2 separate regions of the Homo sapiens genome follow, and region 2 is linked to region 1. The links are contacts of gene promoters, found by promoter capture Hi-C in blood cells and fetal thymus (Javierre and others, 2016). All regions are on one chromosome and are shown on one strand. The core of a region is centred on a gene start or on the middle of the fragment in contact, and the rest is flanking DNA. Distances in the headings are between cores, read along the strand shown.

Region 1 (3,025 bases), core at 100-2,599:
ATAACCAAGTTCCTAGGATTTTAACTGGAAGAATAAATATCTGAAAGGCAATGAGGAGTATTAAGCATGGGATGCCACTTCTGCACCTTGAGAAAATGAAGTATGGAAGGATGAGTGGTTTTCATTTGAGAGGGCTGCAGGGTAACTGTTTCTATTTCAGATGAGGAGGTAAAAAGAATGGGCATTGAAAAGGAAAAATGTTTACTAAGTAGGTTATACATTTTGGAATAGAAGTTTCTATAGCACAATAGAAAAGTTTGAGAGGTCACATGGCAATGATAGTTTGGGTGAGAGTGAGGCAGGAGAATAGGGTGTGGAGGCAGGGAACCTAAGGATGTGTCACTCCGACTTCCTAAGAACTAAATTGAAAGGAAACCCCTAACTTTCCATGCCTAAGTAACAAAAGGACCAGAGGCTACTCCCTTTGCAAACCCCCACTTTTTCTGCAGGGCAGATGGGAAATTGGCTGTGGGCAGCAAATCAGACTGATTGCAGGAGAGTCTTCCTTTGCATAGAAGTATCACTTTGTAACTTCACCATCTGCAAGAAATCAAACTGATTGCAGGGGAAATCTTCCTTTGCATAGAGGTATACCACTTTGTAACTTCACCCTAGCCTCTGATTGATTGCTTTTTGCACCAATGTTTGCACAGGAGCATGACCTTTGTAACTTCACTTCAGCCTCTGGTTGGCTGCTTTCTGCAACCAATCAGACTGATTGCGCGTTACTTCATTTACATGAGGTGAGCATTAGGTGGCCAATAGGAAGCTTCTAGAGGGTATTTGGACTCAAGATTCTGTATCCGGGCCCTTGAGCCGCTGCTCAGGTCGCTTCCGTACAGAGCGTGCTTTAATTTTCAATAAGTCCCTGCTTTTGTTGTTTTGTTGCTTCATTCTTTCTTTGCTTTGCTGGGCGTTTTGTCCAATTCTTTGTTAAAAACGCCAAGAACCTGGACAACTTGCAGTCACGATCCTCTACCGGTGACAATATCATTTAAATATTGGTAGTGGCTTAAGGTAGCAAACATCCCTTTGTGGAACGTTTACTCAGTAAATCCTTAAAAAACAGATCAGAAACAAAAACTGGCCTCCCAGGGATTTGGACTCAGGAGGTGAATTAGGCGCGGAGAGGGCGGAGCCTTTGGGGTTTATGGGCGGAATTGCACAGGGTTTGGCGGGGATCTCTGCTCCGCCTTGGCACTACTCGGCTCCGCTCGCCTCCGCGCGGCTCCCTGGGCTTTCACTCGGCTCTGTTCGGCTCCTGCTCGGGAAGGGTGCGCGGGGGCGAGTCCTGCGCATGCGCCCTCAATTCCTGCTGCTCTCAGGGCTGCGCTCAGCCTCGTGTTTTCACTTCCTTTTCAGAGCTGTATCCGGGTCGCTGCTTTCCCTATTGTCTGAGGCAGCCGCCCTCGCGCTGTGCAATTTCTGGTCTTTCGTTGCTTCTGGTCCAGGCTAATAAAGTTTTTCTTTCTTTAATTTTTTTTCTTCTAGTTTTAACGGGAGAAATTAACTCCCCGGGGCCGCCGGGTTGACTGCGCTGCCTGGGCCGGAGGTCTTCTCCGGCCAGGGAGCGCTGTGGGAAGGGGCTCGAGCGGCCAGGGCCAGGCGAGGCCGGGGGGGCGGGGGGTTAGGGGACCGCGGGGCTACTCTTGGGAGCGCCCCTGTCCGGCTGGCTGCGCGCCGGTTTTAAATAGCATCTTTCGGACTTGTCTTCGCGGCCCCAGTCCCCGACCTCGGCGCTGCCTGGGCTCCTGCAGCCTCTCCCTAAGTCTTCTCCAAACGACCACCTCACGGATTCCTTAGTAAGTGTATCCGAGGCCTCTGCGGCGAGAGGTCCATTTCAGCCATTCTAGAAGTCAGGGCCGGTGGGAGCAGGGCAGGGGTGGGAGAGTCCTGCGGGAAAGCAGGATTGGTGGACCCTCGCCCTCCATGGTCCGCGGGAATGAAGCCCGCTTGTTTTATTCCCTGATTTTTGCCGTTTTTATTGACTGTTACGATGTCTAAGTGGGGGATTACGAGGAAGGTGCAGAAACATCTCGAAAAGATGAGCAAGAGGGTCAGCTTCGATTTTAGCTGGTCTGAGTTGGCGTTGGCAGCATCAGGGCTGGAGCTGCCTTTGAAACTGCCCGTGGAGCTGTCCAGCCCTCCCCACCCTGCTTCTGCACCCCAACCTTCTCCTGACCCCTTTTGCTGAGAACTCAGTTAGACAAAAATTCCTTGTGCGAGGTCATCTTTATGTTCTCTTAGCACCACAACTCTCCCCTGTGTTTGGTGTGATTATGAATGACAATGTAATTTTTTTCTCTTCACAGTGGATCGCAGCTCCAAGAGGAGGCAGGTGAAGCCTTTGGCAGCTTCTCTGCTGGAAGCTCTTGATTATGATAGTTCAGATGACAGTGATTTTAAAGTTGGAGATGCCTCAGGTAAATATTTCCTTCTCTCTTCCCCTTTCCCAGCTTTCTGGAGTTAGGCTTATTTTTAGACTTTTTAAATCGGTTTTGATTAAAATGCCAATTTTAAGTGAAAGCACGTAAACTTCATTTATTTTGTCCATTTGATTTCCCATTTTGCCTTTAGATCCTGTCACTAGACCTATAATTGCTTCTGTTTTCCTCAGAGATAATTAGCAGTCAGGGGAAGGACTTTTTCCAAAGATGCAAAAGGATTTCTCTGTTTTACACCTTAAAATATATTTATGCTTATATTATAGAGGAAAAAACTGAAAGATATCCCGAAGTAGAAAAGTATCCTGAGAGGTGTGTGGACCATTAATAGTCCCTGAGCAGGGTTCTTCTTTTTTCAGATCACTTGACAATCTCTTAGGGGAGTTTTGCTTTTTTTGTGTATTAGCTCTTTTACTAGAATAAAATTGACCAGAGTAAGAGTTGCACTTCAAATTATAGTAGGTGCTGGACCTTGTGGATTGGGCCTTTCAGATGTCTCTGAAGTATAAGTCATGCATGCTTGCTCACTATATTTAGTAATTTTAAAAACTTTTTTTAAAGGTCGTATATTCACATTGTAC
Region 2 (3,052 bases), core at 112-2,611, 1.2 Mb after region 1:
GGTATTTGCTCAAGTATTATAAAAACTGTGGGTCTCAGGAACCACCTGTTTTAGAGGACTCTTAGAATTAAAGTTGAAACATCATATCAGTTACCTTCAGTCAAAAAGATGCAAAAGAAACAAATAAAGTATTAATTAAGGTTCCTAAAGCAGTAAAGAAAACCACCTCACTACCTCCAGTATTTTTTCATTCCCACCTGCTATTATAGCAGATATTCACTGTCTTGTAAATGAAAACTTTTAGTCCTATTTGGCATCTGTAGAGATGACATCATAGTTACTTGCTACTTTGCTATATCAGATGTTAGAAGCAATTTAAGTAATTTGTTGACCTATTTTTTTTTTTTTTTTAAGAGATGAGATCTCGCAATTGTTGGCCAGGCTGGTCTTGAACTCCTGTCCTCAAGCAATCCTCCCACCTCGGCTTCCCAGAGTGCTAGGATTATAGCAGTAAGCCACCATGCCCAGCCAGAGTTAATGTGTAAGGAAGCTTATTCTTTCATGTTATTTTTAAAATTTTATTTTTTTAATAATAAGGATGGAGTTTCCCCATGTTTCCCAGGATGATGTCGAATTCTTGGGCTCAAGCGATCATCCAGCCTTGGCCTCCCAAAGTGTTAGAATTACAGCTGTGAGCCACCACGCCTGGCCAACCTAATATTTTTAATTCATTATCTAAAGAAGAAGAATAAGCTGGCTGTGCCCTAATGAGTTAAAGAAACTCTGTGAAGAGGGATGGTACGTGAAAATGAGCCAAATTGAAAAAAAAAAATTGTTTGTGATATATCATAGGGGACGTCAGAAGGAAATAATCCCCTGTGTGCTGCTTGTAAGCTACTTTAGGAACAGTGGCAATAAGTAGAAATAATAAAGATACTTTATGCTGTTCTCATTATCTTCTTGGTGAAAGTTGATGTGTGACCCTGGAGATACCCAGAGGGAAGAAGGTCAAAGTATAAAGTATACTTTGTGTACCTTTTTAAGATGCTTAAAATGTATCTTAAAATGCTGTGGGTTTGAATTGAAGTTTACATTTGCGTTGGCCTTTGAGTATGATGGTTTTATTTTCACAAGGATAGTAGCTATTTAAGAATAAAATAATTATTGTAGTTGAAGGGATTAATGCACCAGGCTCAGGGGGTAGGGGAGTACTGTTTTAGCAGTCTGGTTACATTTTTGAGGTATGACCAGTAAACTTTTTTGGCCGCCTGGATACAGATTATGGAAAGTAGGAAATCAAGGATGACTCCAGAGTTTTTTTGGGGGGGTTTGTTTGAGCAACTGAAAGAATGTAGTAGCAATTTATTAAAATTGAAAAAAAAAAGATTATTTGAGTGTATATGTCACAGGAGAGTTCAGGAGCTCAAGTTTAGACATGGATATTTGGAGATGCCTATTTGACGTGGAAGTGGATATGTTCATTAGGCAGTTAGTTATCATAAGGGTCAGGAATTCAATTGCAGCGCCCAGCCTCAAGTTACCAATGTATAGATGACACTTAAAGCTCAGCTGGATGACAGCAGCAAGCTAGTCAGTGCAGATGGCAAAAATGAGACCCTAGCGAATCCTGAGACACTGTAGCATATCAAGGTCAGTGAAAGAATTAACAAAGGACCCTGAGAAAGAAAAGTTAGAATGAGAGGAGGAAATCATTGTGTGTGGTATCATGGAAGATAAGTGAAGAAAGTGTACCAAGGAGGAAAGAGTGACCAACTGTCATATGCTACTGATAGATTGGGTAGTGTGAAGACTGAGAACTGGCCATTGGATTTGGTTATATGGAGGCCACAGAAGAGTTTAAAAGAGCGGTTTTGGTAAAGACGTGTAGCATGTATAGAGTGGGCTCAAGAGTGCATAGGAGATGTTACATAGAGAGAAAATAGATTTTCTGAGGGGTTTGGCTCCATAGCAGAGAGAAGAGAGGTAGTCATTAGAAGGGGCTGTGAGGTCAGGAGAGGGATTTTTTTTTTTCTTTGTAAGATAGAGTGAATAATAGACAGTTGTATACTGATGAGAATTATCTGTAGAGAAAACATTGGTAATTCGGGAGATAAGAGAATTATTGGAGCAATGTTCTTGAATAGACAGAAGGGCAGATCTACTGCACAAGAACAAAGAGCTGCTCTTTTTTTCTATAAAAGGTAAGTTATAAGCACAGGTGGTTTATTCTTGGTAATAAAAGAGAAGGTAAAGTATGGACACAGAAGCAGGTAGGTGGATAGATCTGATAATAGAAGCTTGTAGAAATTATCTTCCATTTATCACATAATGAACTAAGAATGAGGATAGCGAAGAAGATATTAAAGATTTGAAGAGAGTTGAAGTTATAAAATTGTGGTCTTGGAGAGTCAGCTTGAGAGTATGAACTTGGGAAATGTAGTATGATTGTTGACATCATTAAGTGCTACTTGACATGAGTGATCAAAAATGAAACCAGTGAGTGTAGTTGTGTGTTTTTCTGTGTCCATGTTTAGCTCTGTTGATATATGCATAGGAGCCAGAGGGTTGGTTTTAACCAGGGTTGTAGTTTTAGCCAGATGAATACCACTAAACAAGGTGAGATATGTAAACACACAAAGATACAGATATCCATGTTATATGTATTTGTATAATTATATATGGGTGTGATGGGGGAGCACAGATGAGAGGAAGAGTATAGATGTGTCGGGGGAAATAACAGAAGCATTTTAGAAAGCTTTTAAAGAGAACTTGACTATCTGATACCTTAATAGTTAATATGATAAGCCAACTTCTAATAAGATTATAAAATTGGCATTTAAAGGTCCATTTATCCTTTAAACTTATGGATATAGCTCAACCCAAGAAAGAAATCACGGATTTTGAAGTGACTTTAACATGGATTGGGGTGAGACCTGAAAGGGCCCTGGAAGGCTCATTATGTAGGGGGCTCTTAAAGCTTGAGACTTCTACTTCAGAGGCCGGTTTTGGTTTTCAAGGGGGACAATGTCAGAAGCTCTGCAGTGATAGAGATGATAGAGGTTTCAGGAAAGGGCGATACCAATATGTTTCTTCTTTTATCATCCAGACAACC

The links. Contacts are between HindIII fragments. The CHiCAGO score rates a contact against its expected background, and 5 or more counts as called.
Region 2: a contact is called between a fragment that was not itself captured here and the fragment with the promoter of PHF14 in region 1, in 3 of 17 cell types (non-activated CD4 T cells, monocytes and activated CD4 T cells). The highest score is 8.1, in non-activated CD4 T cells.

The regions. Positions count from the first base shown.
Region 1 is chr7:10,972,523-10,975,547 of GRCh38, forward strand. PHF14 (PHD finger protein 14) reads left to right here and starts at 1,350. Exons shown (of 18, transcript NM_001007157.2): 1 at 1,350-1,802; 2 at 2,313-2,423. The coding sequence starts at 1,802. RefSeq lists silencers at 545-594, 1,105-1,164, 2,145-2,194 and an enhancer at 1,120-1,414. The HindIII fragment of the contact is 4,357 bases long and covers 768-3,025 here.
Region 2 is chr7:12,215,067-12,218,118 of GRCh38, forward strand. All of the region lies in intron 2 of TMEM106B (transmembrane protein 106B), which reads left to right. Among named protein-coding and RNA genes, the nearest start is that of TMEM106B, 5.3 kb to the left of the region's middle. The HindIII fragment of the contact is 1,747 bases long and covers 489-2,235 here.